2 separate regions of the Homo sapiens genome follow, and region 2 is linked to region 1. Evidence: promoter capture Hi-C in human tissues and cell types (Jung and others, 2019). All regions are on one chromosome and are shown on one strand. Each heading gives the region's core, a stretch centred on a gene start or on the middle of the fragment in contact. The rest is flanking DNA. Distances are from core to core; before and after follow the strand shown.

Region 1 (7,725 bases), core at 2,862-5,361:
ATGCTGCAGATTTCATTTGGCGGTACCATCACTTTTCAGTTTTAAAAATGTAGTGGCAATTTTCAGATAGCCACATCATCAGCTATCTGAAATTCCCCCACCGCAATCAGCTATGCTACCGCCCATCCCAACCCATACCCAACAGACAGAAGTACAACTATCTATTAGCATCAGAAACAATTCATATTTAATTACCTTCATCCAATTTGATTCCATTAAGCCAACCAGAATCAGCACAAGATGATGTCAAACCATGATCCTATATATCACTTCTTAGACTAAAGACTGATGGAGCCAAGTATTGTGCTTTGCTAAGGGGGTCAAATGGGGGAGAACTCCCTATCTCCATAGCAGACAGGCAAAAACTTCAAGACCTCTGAAACAGCAGAAGAATCGCTAACACTTTAACCTGGTATTACCATTATCAATTCTACAGATAGCTACGCAGCCTGTACAGTACTGTAATAATGACTCAGCCCCACTACAGTTAGTTCTACCAATACTTAGGAAGTCTTTTCACTTAGACTTAGATATGGTTTCTGCTCCAAATTCCTAACTCACTGTCAACATTTTAAATATAAATAACAGAGTCTCCCAGCAGTTGAGTATGGGTCAGAATGTTCTAAATTACATGCAAAGAGCTACAATTTTAAATATTGCGAAGAATGAGCTCCAAAGTGGGGGGACGGGGGGGAATCTTTTATATCTTAGGGGATGAGGGCAGGCAAAATGAGAGACGTTTGATTTTAATATATGAACTTGTACAGTTAATCTGTAAGATGGGTTAGGCCCTCTTAAAATCACGCTTAAACAATCTCTTAATACAAAGTTCAATAATGACATGTCTGGGCATAATTAAACATTGATTTCTACTTTTTTTAAAGTTTTTTTCATAGTTACATAAATCAATCACTGGTTAACAATGTATTACTTGAGATAGCAAGCATAGTTACCAACACCACATCTTCCAGACAATATTCACAAAGAATAATTACACCAATGTCAGAACTTTATGGTGGCAGATTCTCTTCAAAAAGCATGTTTAGATAAAAAGCAAATGACAAATTATCAAATCCTTCCTTCTCTCCTTTTTCAGCTCTGTAAGAAAATAGAGATTTGTGGCTTTTTATTTTTTCATGCTAGTATCATATAGTATCACTCTAGCATAGTGGCTCAGCTCATGGGATTTAGAGTGGCCAACTCACAGCCCTTGGGCAAGCTAGTAAATACACTGAAGCCTCAGTTTCCTCATCTACAAAACAGAAATAACAGGACCTAACTCACAAGGGTCCTTCCAAGGATTACATTTAATTAGATGATCCATGGAAAGAGCTGAGATTCATGCCTGGCAGTAAGTATTCAATAAATATTAGCTATTATTGCTATTAAATGTGAGCCAACACATTCTAAAAGTCAACATACGCAGATTACTTCAGCCTCTATAAAAATGTCAGTAAAGATCAATAACCTAGCCAGCTCACAATCATTCACGTGACTTAGGTGAGAACCATGTAAGTTAACTTTCTCACAAGAAAGGGCTAAACTTTGTTTCATTACTTACATTACCTACTCAGCCCAGCCTGACAGCCAAAAGAACACATTCCATATTAAAGATCCCACCTTCCTCTAGCAAGGTCAAAAGGACTTCTTACATCCTCACCTGCACATCCTTTCTTTGCTCCTGTATCCCAAAGAAACATGTCTATACTGTGGCTTTCTAAACTGCAGGCCTCACCTCCTCCCTCTTTTAAAATCGTGATAGGTTGGTTAAACGTACTTAAGAAACACTCCAACCCCTGACAATTCTCTGCGCCCAGTCTTCCACAACCCCCAGCTCAGAAGTCACCTCCTCTGAGAAATTTCCCCACCCTCAGACAAAATTAACTCCCCTATACTTCAAAGCATTTTGGGTACACATATGCCCCAGTAGTTACCTTATAATTAACTAATTATGTCTCCCCCAATAGACTGAATTGAGAGCAAGGGAGTGTTATGGTTACAGGATCAGCTCTAGCACCAAGCACAGTGGTTGGCACATATCTGGTGCTCAAGAAATGCCATACTTTAAACCAGATTCTCTCCTGGCTGAGTACCATCTCCTGCTGGATGCCCCACTTCAAACTCTGAACATAAGGTTGCTCTCAGTAGAGCAGGCTAACATGATGGACTGCTGATTACAACATTAGAAAACCTACTCATCAACTTCTCCCATTGGAGAGGTTCCCGGAACCCAAACTCAATTGAGCAGGATTATGTACCATCAAAATCAGTGGGAATTCCCAGCACACTACAGAAGGTAACTTCTCCTTCAACAGGGTTGTTCGAAAGCCTGCAAGGATGAGCTTTTTATTGGAGGACTCTTCCCTGGGTAACTGAAGTGGAAATACAGTAAGAATAAATGCCTTGATTTGGCTGAAAAGGGTTCAAAAACATAAAGAATTGGGAAAAAAAAAAAAAGCCAGTTCTTGATTCCTGAAAAACAGTGGCTCGTGAAAAAGAATGAACAGGAAGCAGGGGTGGGTACTGGACACTCTTTGCTTCAATAAATAAAATCTTTTTTTCCTCCTTACAACCCAAACGAAAAGGCCAACACACCAGGTCCACAAGAGATGCTCAACAATCTTTCCTTCCAACAAGTACACTAAACTGCGTTTCCAGAAAAACACTGCATTGGGAACCTCGACCACAATGAAAAGTTCCAGTGACTAACATAATTTTTTAAAAATCCAACATTTACATTGGGTGACCCACAGAGAACTTGCAAACTTTCTTTAGGGAGGTACTGCTACCTTTGCAAAGAACGTAACTTGGGAAAAACAACCTGGAAATATAAAGAACTCCACAAAGCGTGGCTTTAGTTTTAGAGCCATAATTCCTATCATAAACAGCCTATCAAAAAAAAAATTAACAGTTGCTTAAGGAAATCTTTCATTCTGGAAGCAGAAAAGGAAACAAACATGAAGCATAAAGGGAATAACCCCCAAAATAAAGTTTAAAAAATAATAATTCAGTCCCCCAGCCTTCCCTCTCTGGTGAAGTATGTGATTTATACGGCTTTGCTCTGCAGAAAGCTCATTCTGGGCAGCTCAAGGAAAGAGCCGAGGGAGGGAGAGAAAGAGACACAGGCACAGAAAGGAGAGGAGAGAGAAAAAGAAAATGGCGCAGAGACTAAGTCCCGACCGTCGACAAGGCGACTTTCCCGGGAGGAATCCCGGCCCGGAAAGACCGCCCGAGGCCCGGTGGCGGACGACACGGGGTCTCCGTTGTCCCCTCTTGGGAGGGCCGGGATCTGGAGGAGCTGGGGTCCCCGGAAAGGGGGTCAAGAGGCGGCCCGATGGGAACAATGGGGCCGGTGAGCGAGGAGCCGGGACTTAGTCTCTGGGACGCCATGTCTGTCCTCTGCCCGGCACCGGCAGGGCGCGGGGGAGGCGGCCGGCGGCTGGGGGGCCCCGGAGTCGGCGCAGGGGGCACACTCACCATTCAATCGGAAATCCGCTTCGATCTGGAAAAAGAAAAGGAGAGAATATCAAACAACAGCCACTTTAACCCCTCCGGCGGCGAGCGCGCGCGGCCGGGGTCTGGCTCACCCTGCGCCCCCGGGGAGGACGGGGACCCGGGGGTGGCCACAGAGGGCAGCCATCCCTGCCTCGAACTGTAACTTCGCGGCCCTCGCTCGCGGCCTAGCGAGCCGATCTACTCCGGCAGGCGGCCCCTCACCGGGGGCTCCGGCCTGTCAAAGCTGCCGGGCCGGGGCTGGGGTCGGGGCCTGCGCCGGGGGTCGCGGGACGGCCAGGCCGGGGTCCGGGGCCGCCAGGGTCAGGCCGGGCCGTACCTGGGAATCGTTGTGGAGGTGGTCCCCACTCATGTCGGCCCGGAGGGACGAGCGCGGCGGCAGGCGAGGCGGCGTGGGGGAGACGCAGACGGCGAACCGGCCTGTGCGGGCGGACGGGGACTCCGGAGGCTCGAGGAGGCGCAGGTAAGCGGCGGTGACTGTGGGCCCGAGACTCCAGAAACGGCTGAGGCTGCTACCACGGCGGCGACGCTGCCTGACTGCCGGGCGGGCGGCGAGAACAGACCCCAGCAGTTGTGTAACAGCCTAAGTTCGCATTTGGGCTCACTGCGCCTGCGCGGCCGCTTTTAAACAACACGTCGGCGACGTCAGCGCTCGCGGAAAGAGGCAGAGGGTTGCGGCCCGCCCCCTCGCTGTTCGCCAGACGGACCTGTCTTTGCATCGCAAGCCCCGCCTCCGGACCGTGCGCGCTCCGCTGTGATTTGCATAAGGAGCCGACTCCTCCCACGGCGTCCCACCCCAAGCAGCCTCCCCTTCCTCTCCAGACGCTTTTTCTCGGAACCCCAGCCCCTCTGCTAGGCAGTGCGCAGGCGCCACCCGGGCACCGCCTCCGGACCAGGGCTGGCCGCGCAGCCACGTGGTGGGCCTTTAAAGGCCGCGGCGGGACCCAGCAATCTTGGGCAGAGCTGGTATCCGGCGTCCGCATCTCCTTGGAGCGGCGAGTACCTTGGCAGCTGGGACCCCAGAGGTCTCCCCAGCGCCTCCTTTCTTGCTAAGCCGACCCTGAGGCCGCCTGGTGGGAGGAGTCCCCTCCCCAGCCTTTGTCCAGGCCCTCCAACTTCTGGATTATTTCACGCCCACTTTTTAAAAATTATTTTAATTTTTCAACCAACCAAGGGTCCGGTTTAACCCCAGTTTTCCGCCGAGTACATGTAGCCCTGGGTCACCAAGGGTCTGATTTCTTTGGTTCATTCTACAAATACTTATTGAGCATCCGCTATGAGCCCAGGAATTGTGCTGAGGGAAGGGGGAATGCAAGAGACCAAAGGGAACTGAACCTGTCTCTATCCGCCCCTGTATCCCTGGCATGCTGGGAGGACGGGGCAAATGGGGAATAGAACTACCGTTTATAGAGCATCTATTCTGTGCCCAGCTCTGAATTCTCACAATAGCTCTGTGAGGTCGCCTGTATTACAAAAGTCAAACTGTCCTAAAGACAAGGGACCAACAGCCAGCTACCTTGCATCTATAGTTGGATACCTCTCAAGCTTCTCTGGGAATGAACTGAACTCCACTCAGCTAGAAAAAGCCCCATCCTGACACCTTCCTTTCCCTCATTTCCCACTAGTCCCGCTGATTGCATCTCTTTGCTTCATCTACTTCTCTCTGCTGCCCATAAGCCTTTGAAGTCTGCGTTCTCCTGCTTGGATTAATACAATGTGCTGGCTGGGGGTGGTGTCTCACACTTGTAATCTTAGCACTTTGGGAGGCCGAGGCTGGCAGATCACTTGAACCCAGGAGTTCAAGACCAGCCTGGGCAACATGGCAGAACCCTGACTCTACAAAAAAATACAAAAACTGGCGGGGTGTGGTGGCATGTGCCTGTAGTCCCGGCTACTCGGGAGGCTGAGGTGGGAGGATCACCTGAGCCCGAGGAGGAGGTCGAGGCTGCACTGCACTCCAGCCTGGGCAACAGAGTGAGACCTGGTTTAAAAAAAACAAAAAACAAACCAACAAAAAACACCGCACTCCAAAACACTACACTTCTAACAGGGATTGCTGCTTCCATTCTTGGCCCTCTCGTAAACTGCATTCCAACAATTGCCAAAGTGATCTTCTCAATATGCTAATCTAACCATTACTCCTTTGTGGATATTGCCACATCTATTACCACTTTCACTATTATTATTTCATATTTTAATTGATCTCCTTTTTATTTACCTTCATCCTAAGTGTTATCTGTGAAATAATATCTATGAAATCATTTGGAAGTAAATATGAAAACTGTTCATCCAGTGGACCATCAGTATCTTTATCACATCTAATGTTTACCATCACATGTTTACCATTAGATGTGTTTACCACATCTTGTGAATGCTTCAAGATCAACCTAAATATCACTTTTTCAAAGTGACTCTCCGGCGCACTACTGACCCTGCTTCCACTGGCTGACCAAGGGTGCCTTATAGGCCAGGCGCGGTGGCTAACGCCTGTAATCACAGCACTTTGGGAGGTCAATGTGGATCAATCACTTGAGGTCAGGAGTTCAACAACAGCCTGGCCAACATGGTGAAACCCTGTCTCTACTAAAAATACAAAAATTAGCAGAGTGTGGTGGTTCACACCTGTAATCCCAGCTACTCGGGAGGCTGAGGCAGGAGAATCGCTTGAACCTGGGAGGCAGAGGTTGCAGTGAGCCGAGACCGCACCACTGTACCCCAGCCTGGGCAACAGAGCGAGTGAGTCTCAAAAAATAAATAAACAAATAAAAATAAAAGGTGCCTTATAGTATCTATCTCCTTTGTAACACTTATGACACTTGTTATTAAGTTACAAATGTAGTAATTGGTTTCCTGTCTATTTCCCCTATAGCAAGCAAGGTCTGTGAGAGGGGGGAATCTTGTCCATCTTGCCTACCACTGAATTCCCAGCACCCAGCAACAGGCCCTCCTACAGAAGAGGTGCTCAAGAAATGGGCAAATCAAAGCAGGTTACCCTGCTTTGGTTAGGAGCACACATTTGGAAGTCAAATCAACTTAGGTTTGAATTCTGCTCTGCTGTTTGTTACCTGTGTGATATCAGGCAAGTTGTTTAACTTCTCTGAGTCCCTGTTTCCTCATCCACTCCATGGTGATCATTGTGGGTATGTAATGACTATCAAAAAATAATGGTTTGAGGGCAGGCACCTAGTAAGTGCTGAGTCTTGGATTCATACTCAGGTCGGCCTGACTCCAAAGCTATACTCTTTCTCTGAAGCAAGCTGCCAGAGCCAGTTTTGCCTTGCTGTTGGTGTCTCTTCTCATACTCTTCCCATCTCAGGATCAATCCCTGGCCAGAAGATGAGGCATCTGCTTGCTGCAGTGAGTCCAAGATAATTTGAGGACGGCCTTCAGGAATAACAATGCATCCACACTACTCCACTCTCCCAACCCCCCGTTTCCCAGGGAGAATCTGCATTTGCTTTTTTTTCTTTTTTTTTTTTTTTTTGAGATGGAGTCTCTGTCACCCAGGCTGGAGTGCAGTGGTGCCATCTGGGCTTACTGCAACCTCCGCCTCCTGGGTTCAAGCAATTATCCTGCCTCAGCCTCCCGGGTAGCTGGGATTACAGCCACGTACCACCACACCCAGCTAATTTTTGCAATTTTAGTAGAGACAAGGTTTCACTATGTTGGTCAGGCTGGTCTCAAACTCCTGACCTCGTGATCTGCCCACCTTTGCCTCCCAAAGTGCTGGGATTACAGGCATGAGCCACTGTACCCAGCCTGCATTTGCTTTCCAGGCCCCTCCAAAGAAGACTAGGTAGGCATGAAAACAGCACAGACTTCACAATGGCAGACCGAGGACATCCCCGTGCACAGACATGGAAATATCCGGGCAGTCTTGTCACAGGCTGAACTTCTCTGCCAGCATGTGTGGCTGGCAGTGCTCAGAGGTTGACTGACTTACTCTGTCTTACAGAGACCACTCCTGACTCCTAACACTTCAAACACATGTCCCCACCATATGGTACTTGAGGAGATTATTGATAGTGCATGGACAAGCATTTTAATTCTAATAGATATGTATTTCGATGTGTATGAGAAAAAATAACCATTGTTTTAAGGATATAACTGGGATGAGGCTTTTTAAAAAAGTGATTGATTTACATAAAAACATATAGGAATAGTGCACAGAGCGGACATATAAGACAAACTCCAGGAAGGCTATAGGCAAAT
Region 2 (7,725 bases), core at 1,934-4,433, 1.4 Mb before region 1:
GGAACAAAGACACTGGGAATTTCTAGAGGGGAAGGGAGAATGGAGGGTGGTAGCAAGGGCTGAAAAACTACCTATTGGGTACTACACTCACTACCTGGGTGACAGATTCATTGGTATCCAACCCTCAGCATCACGCAGTATACCTTTGTAACAAACTGGCACATGTACCCCTGATTCCAAAATAAAAGTTGACAAAAAAATTACATATCCAGTAACTATTGGCTTTCCTAGAGATTTGTTTCACAAAAACAAAAAATTGTTTATAACCTGTGTGCATTTTAATTAACGCAATATTTTCATTTATTCACCAAACACATGAATACGCATCGTAGGTCTAGCATTTTTCCAGGCACTGAAATGACAGTGGGAAAACTGACACCATCTCACTGGAGCTTATGTTCTAGTTGAGTGCGACAGATAGTAAATGAATATATAGTAAATCAGACGGCAATAATGCTGTCAGGTAAAAAAAAGCAGGATAATGGGGACAGGGTGTACTGGCCACCTGTGTGGGAGGGACATTTTATTTTCAATGAAAGACCTGGCTTTAAAGGTGGCATTTGAACAGAGACCTGAGGGAAGGCAAATTTCTGTCTGGAGGAAGGCTGTTCCAGGCAGTGAGAACAGAAAGTGCAAAGTGACCGGGCTCAGTGGCTCACGCCTATAGTCCCAGCACTTTGGGGGGCCAAGGTGGGCAGATAACCATGAGGTCAGGAGTTCCAGCCTGGCCAACATGGTGAAACCCCGTCTCTACTAAAAATGCAAAAATTAGCTGAGCATGGTGTTGGGTGCCTGTAATCCCAGCTACTCAGGAGGCTGAGGCAGGAGAATCACTTGAACCCGGGAGGCAGAGGTTGCAGTGAGCTGGGATCACACCACTGCACTATAGCCTAAGCAACAGAGCAAGACTGCGTCTCAAACAAAAAAGAAAGTGCAAAGGGCCTCACGGGAGAGACTGGTTAGCGTGTTCCAAGCCAGTGTGGTTGGAATAGAGTGAGTAAGGGAAAGAGTGGAAGAAACTAATTTGGCTTTTTGTTTAAATGGATCATGTTGTCTGCTCTGCTGACAACAAGCTAAAGGAAGGCAAGGATAGAAGTAGAGAGGCTGCTGAGCAGGCATTTTAATAATGCAGGTGAGAGATGGTGGAGGCTCAGACCAAAGTAGGAGGGAGTGATGAGAAGTAGTAGAATTCTAGATGTAGTTTTAAGATAAAGCCAATGGAATTTGGTAGCAAAGTAGGTTTGGGATGTGAAAGAAAGAGAGGAATCAAAAATGACCCCAGGTATTTTAGACTGAGCAAATGGAAGGATGGAGTTGCTATTAACTGAGATAGGAAAGACACTGGAATGAGCAGGTTTCAGAGAAAGATTGGGATTTAGGTTTGGCATCTGTTAAGTTTCAGATGGATTCCTGTTGGATATTTTGGGTGAGATATCAAGTAGACAGATATGCCAGTCTGGAGTTCAGGGGAGAAGTAGAGGACGGAGATGTTAGCAGGGGAGTCAGCCTATGCACGAGCTTTGCAGACGTAAAGCTGGAGGAGGTGAAAGGGTCTCAGTGTAGGTAGAATAGGGAGATTCTAGTGCTAAGCTTTGGGACCCTTGGATTTTTAAGGTGGAAAATTTGAGGCAGAATCATCAAATGAGACAGAAGTATCAGCCAATGAAGTAAGAAGAAAAATGAGGGCAGGGTCCAGGAAGCCAAGTAATAAAAAAAGAACAAAAGGAGAAGGTGATCCACTGTGTCAAATGCTGTTGGTAGTTCAGGTAAAATAAGGACTGAGAATTGACCATTAGATGCAGCAACAGAGAGGTCATTGGTGAGTTAACATTAGCAATTTATAAAGAATTGTGGGTACTGAAATCTGATTACACAGGCCCAAGGGAGAGCAGCAGGAGAGGAATTGTATAGAAAGATACAAAGAAGGCAGAGACAGGAGACAGTACCTGAAGATGTTCTCTGATCAAAAGGTGGGGAGTTGTTGGTATTTTATAAAATTTGAGAAATATTAGAACTAAAGGGAAATGATCCAATGGAAAGGGAAAAAGCCCCAAAGAGGATGGACACTGCTCTTGGGATGACGTTTGGTAAATGAGAGCACAGGGGGTCTCACTCACACATAGAAGAGTTGGTCTTAGATGCGGCATAGGTCCTTCTGCTGTAGAAAAAGGAGGGAAGACAGAATGTATGGGGATGGGTCAGTTAAGCTGACATGTGCCGTGTTCTCACCATGGAACTTCCATTTTCTCTATGAAACAGGAAGCAGGGTTATCAGCTAAGAGTGAGGAGAGCGTGGAGGTGTTGGAGGTTTGAAGAGACTCCATAAAGTAGGAAACAGTGTGGGAGTCTGAAAATGAGACTGAAATGGGGAAATGTAAAGGATCACCAGGAAATACCAAGGGAGCACTTGAGGTTAGCAGACAGGAGTTACAACGAGACCAGTTAGCATGGGTCACTGCTTTCCTCACACTTGTCCAGCAGACTCGGAGTAGGCAGAAAATATGGGCTTCAGCAGAGTTAATACTGTGACAAATGACTTAAATGAGCAAGAGGGGCAAGAACATTTTGAACATTTCTCAATATCAATGTATATTACATTTATATCACCTTCATTTTAATGGTTTCAGAGGATTCTGTAAAATGGGCTCAATCTATTTAGCCAGCTCCCTCATCTTGGGTATTTAGTTTTTTCTAGTTGTTCATTATTGCACTGAACAAATAATGATTCAATGAATTCCCCTTTATGTCACTCTTTGCTCATAGTTTTGATTCTTCTGAAAGTAGTATTGCTAAACAAATAGTAAAATAATCAGCTCTAAGTAACAAAGCCAACTCAAAATGACTTATACCATATGGAAAATGTGTCACATCATATAACAAGGTATCCAATCATATCCTAAGCTGCGGAATTGCTTAATTCATTATTTTAAAAACATCATGATTGACTCAGGTTTTTCTGCTCTGTCAACCCCAGTGTGTGGGCTTTGTCTTTAGGCTGGCCGTCCTCTTGGTCAGAAGATAGCTGCCATGCCCTCAGACATTTCCTGTGGACCTGGGGACATCCCTTCCTAAGAATCTCTTAAGCAAATATTCCCAGATGCACAATGTAAATTTCTGCTCACGTTTCATTGGCAAGAATGAGGTCCCATGCCCATAGGTTAACCGATCACTGGTGAAGAAAATAGTTATCATGATTGACTGAGATTCTTCAATATTTATTCTCGAGGTGGAATAAACCTTGAGATGGGATAAAGGGGGATCTCCTTTGATGAATGCATAGCCACATTAAAGAGTAAATACCACGCAAATCAGTGTTTGCCAGAAGTGAAGAAGAGGGCCGGGGAGAGAGATGGATATTACATAGACAAGTGTGTCTTCTGCTAAGGAAGATACACATTTTCACCATTTTTGAAGGCATATCCATCAAGTAGTAAAATTAAAAAAAAAAAAAAAAGACCTGTCACATCTTCATAGACTTTGTGCATTTTTACCTTCCTCCTTATTTGTTTTGGACAATCCTGCCTTACTGGGCATCTTGCAGGTTGTATTCGGGAATATAGGAAGCCGTAGTCTTCCCTGACTCTTCCATGCAATTCTGTTGATATCTACCCTCTTTACTCACCCAACGCTTGCGAATACAGTCAGTTCTGATGTCATGTGACCTATACATTCCTAAATATCGCCACGATATGTAAAATTGCACACTAAAAATTACAGGGCTTATAGGAAGAATGAAGTTAGGATACAATATTTAAAAACTTTATCAGTGACCCAAACAATAGGAACCTAGGAAAAATCTTAGCTCAGTTTTAGACATGTTAAATAGCTAAGGAATACATAAATACTACAATAAATATGGTACTTTACTTTGAAAGAGATGCAGTCTGTGTGTAAGTGGGCATCAGATTCCAACTTGTGTGTTATTGAGAAATGGTGTATGGAAGATCGTCTGAAATGGGAGGGAAAGTTGGAACCCCAGATGTGGCTGACACACACTGTAATCTGAGTGGGGAAGCAGATGTTTGAGGTGTATGAGTGCATACATTTTGTGTATTCCTTCGTGGTTGGTTCATCTGAGTGCAGTTTTCTCCAGTCACCTGCTTTTCTCTCCTGTGAAATGAGGCATAATCAAACATTTGTGTTATGTTCAAATTATTCCCTAATATACATGCATATTTTAAAAAGGGTTACAATGAAGATGGATTTACTGACTTCACAATCGATGGGGTTCAGAACATGCTACCCCCAAATATGGCACCTTGGCATTTGGGTAGACAGCAGAAGTAGGAGGATATCTCACCTTCCCCCAGCCTTCTCCCCTGAAGAAAGTCCTAAGACCCTTATTCCAGAGGTGCCCTTCCTATTCCCAGAGGAGAGGAACGTCCTTATCTCTGAAGACACAGGGGGATGGAGAAGAATCGTTACAAAATAGATCTTGCTAAATTCCCTTCAGTTTATCACCATTAGACAATCCCCACTTTTTCCAATTATATTTTGGCACAACTGTCCACTCTTCATCAAATGTAAGCATTAAAAAAAATCAGATTTTCCTCTTTCTTTGGGCCTTCTTTTCTGAAGACTTCCTTGTTGTGTAAAACATGTATTAAATAGATGCGTATGCTTTTCTCTTGTTAATCTGTCTTTTGTTTTAGGTGCCTCAGCCATGAACCTAGCAACCGATGAGGAAAGAAATCTTTTCTTCCCTGCACCACCCATGCCCTTTTCTGTCCTTTTCCATGTGAATTCCACCTTCTGAAAGCTGTTCAAAGTTTCTTGCATATGGATGATACTCCCTCTGAGTTTTCAGGGCCCGGGCAGGCTTTTCCAATCCTTATACTGTGAAGCCATAAATCTCTGAAGATAGGGGTAGAACTAAGCAGCTGTGATTATGTTGCAATCTTTTCTAGGAACCAAAGCTAGTTCTGCCTGACTCTGTAGCTCCTCACTTCTTCCTATGCCAAGCCAAGTGAACTGTAGGTCATTGCAAAATGGCAGTTATTTTTTTAAAAAGAAAGATAAATATGTGGGTTAAGGTAAGAAAAATGAAATGGATTTTTTTTTTTGAGAAATACCAAAAGAAAGATTAGTAAAGCAAACGCCCTTCAGTAGAGGAAAATGTCAGCCTCTATTTTCTTATCAAAACCTATTATTTTACTTTTTTCCCATTTTTCCTGATGTATGCTAATAGCCCTCTTACCTTTCAGGTTCTTAGTTGACTTACAGAATAGAGGGAGGAAACAAAGACATTTCATGCAAGGTCTGAGAAAAGGTAGGGCAGGAAATGTTCATATGTGTTAGAACTGAGTGAGTTTAAGTAACATTTTTTCCTGGAATTAGCTGAAATAGAAGCAAGACATGAGGGAAAACACAGGCTTGTAGGAGACAAATTAACTGTGAGGTAGGGAGTTGGCATCAGGTATAACAGTGGGATAGAACAAGGGAGGGCTTGGGGCAGGTGGGTGCAGCAGTACAGTGTGGTGGCAAGGACAGTGCACCCCTCTCTGGCCATTGCCCATCATGGCAGGGAGGAAAATAGAGCCCGTGGCAATGTTGTTGACTCCTGTAGGGCATCCGACATTAGAAGCTCTTCTGTTGGGGAGAACCTAGACAGTATCATCAATGATTAACTTGCTTATGCTCGGCATCTGAAAGAAAAGGAAATCCAATAGCATTTAGTTATAGGACAGAGCATTTACATCTGTTTTCAGTATGTAGGACTTGCTGGATGACACCAGGGGCAAGACATAATCAGGTTTCTTCTATTTTGATGAATTTAATAAAACATCTTGTCTTTCACCATTGTGGCTAGTGGCTCATCCAAGCTCTATCATTGTTGCATTCCCTTCCTCCCGCTCTTTAGGCTTTAAAAACAAACGAACAAACAAAAAACTGTGGCGTACCCTATCACTACAGGAAGTCCAAGAAGAATCGCTGGTCTTTGGTCCCTCCAGGTTGCCTCTGTGATGGGAGTCGTCCAGGCCTGAGGTGCCCTGGAACCTTTGCTGGTAGTGTCCGTGCCCCACACACTAAGTTTGGCCGCCAGGACATTGGCTATGGCTCCAGTTCCTGAGGCTGCCATGTTATGTGTTCAGATTGTGACATCAGGGGACCATGTCTGGGTTCTTGCAACTCAGGTAATCCTCCTCCAGCTTTTCAGACTTCTACACTTGTGTTCAGAATCAAGCCATGCCCCTCTTCTCTTGCTGCTGAAGCACAAAAGTCTCCTCCTCCTTTCCTGTGAGGTGTAGTCGAGGGATCTGAAAAGTGAACTCTTAATTCCTACCTGGACAAGCAAGCCCAGAACTCACAATGAAAAGGACATTTGCTTTTTAATTCTCATTTTAAAGAGTTCCTAGCCACGCTCCTCCCTCTTTCCTCTAAAAAATTCTCAAATACCTCTTAATTCATTAATAACTCACCCCACTACATATTACTCAATTTGTGTTTAATTGTGGCCCTTAAAAGTAGATATTATTCTGATTTTAAAAGCAATGAAAAGACCTAAGTAACTTGGTCAGGGTCAGTTATAACATCGGAGTAAACCTAAATAAAATAAGGTTGCAAACTCAATTCTGACTCCATAACCTAATTTCTTAGTCCTACCTGCCAGCCTCTCGGTCGGTACTCAAGAAAGTTCCTGTTCTTTGGTTAAATTTAAATTTCCTACCACTTAACAGATATTTATTATCTTAAACAGTTTGTGAGAGTCAGGAATCTTAGAGTGACTTAGCTTATGGTTCTGGCCCAGGGTCTCTCTTAAAGTTGCAGTTGAGATGTCAGCTGGGGCTACAGTCATCTGAAGGTTGGACTGGGACTGGGGGATCCACTTCCAATATGGTGTACTCACACAGCTATTGTCAGAGGCCTCAGTATGTTATGACATGGCACATGGCTTTCACTAGAGTAAGTGAGCCAAGAGAAAAGGGAAAGAAATTATAATACATTTCATGAACTAGCCTTGGAAGTAGCAGAGTACTACATCTGGATGTGAATAACAGGAGGTAGGGATGGTTGGGGACCATCTTGGGAGCTGACTACCACTGACATTTACGTTGGTTAATGGAAGCTGGCATTTACTTTGGTTAATGTTAGTACTGTGTGGGTCTGCAGCACCATGGTGACAAATGATTCCTGGTTTATACTTTCCTTAATCAATTAATCAATCAATTTATATTTTTCATCAATTTTTTCAACTGAAGTAGAGATGTAATTTCATAAGCATAATGTATTGACTGATTGCATTCTCTCTTTTACTACGTGTTGATTCATTCACAAGTCTTTACTGATTACATGCCCAGAACTTTTTAATTTTTTGTAGTGACAGGGTTTCACCTAATATGTGCCAAGTATTATACTAGCTGCTGAGGATACAATTGGGAGAAAATTGAATGCTGTTCCTCACCCTCCTAGAGTCCGTTGCATAGGGAAGAAAGCTATTAGATGGCTGTATAAGTCCATACTGTGCTGATATAACCGAATACCACAGACTGACTAATTTATAATGAAGAGAAATTTATTAGGTCACAGTTTAGCGCCTTCTTGCTGTGTCATCTTATGGTAGAAGGGCAAAGGAAGAGAGAGAGAGACAGAGAGAAGAGTTAAACTGGCAGCCTCAAGGCTTTCTTTCTTTTTTTTTTTTTTTTTGACAGGGTTTTGCTCTGTTTCCCAGGCTGGAATGCAGTGGTGTAATCATGGCTCACTTCAGCCTCAGCATCCTGGGCTCAA

The links. The method cuts DNA at HindIII sites, captures the fragments that hold promoters and counts their contacts. A contact is called where the count stands out against the background at its distance.
Region 2: a fragment that was not itself captured here is called in contact with the fragment with the promoter of TOP1 in region 1 in 1 of the 25 tissues and cell types used here (lymphoblastoid cells).

Annotation. Positions count from the first base shown.
Region 1 is chr20:41,025,208-41,032,932 of GRCh38, reverse strand. It overlaps TOP1 (DNA topoisomerase I), which reads right to left and starts at 4,111. Exons shown (of 21, transcript NM_003286.4): 1 at 3,833-4,111; 2 at 3,478-3,502. The coding sequence starts at 3,865. It overlaps LOC100128988 (a long non-coding RNA gene), which reads right to left. Exons shown (of 3, transcript NR_145525.1): 3 at 7,537-7,725. RefSeq lists silencers at 3,771-3,840, 4,061-4,412. The HindIII fragment of the contact is 11,082 bases long and covers 1-7,725 here.
Region 2 is chr20:42,389,772-42,397,496 of GRCh38, reverse strand. All of the region lies in intron 9 of PTPRT (protein tyrosine phosphatase receptor type T), which reads left to right. Among named protein-coding and RNA genes, the nearest start is that of PTPRT-AS1, 580 kb to the left of the region's middle. The HindIII fragment of the contact is 6,662 bases long and covers 1-6,514 here.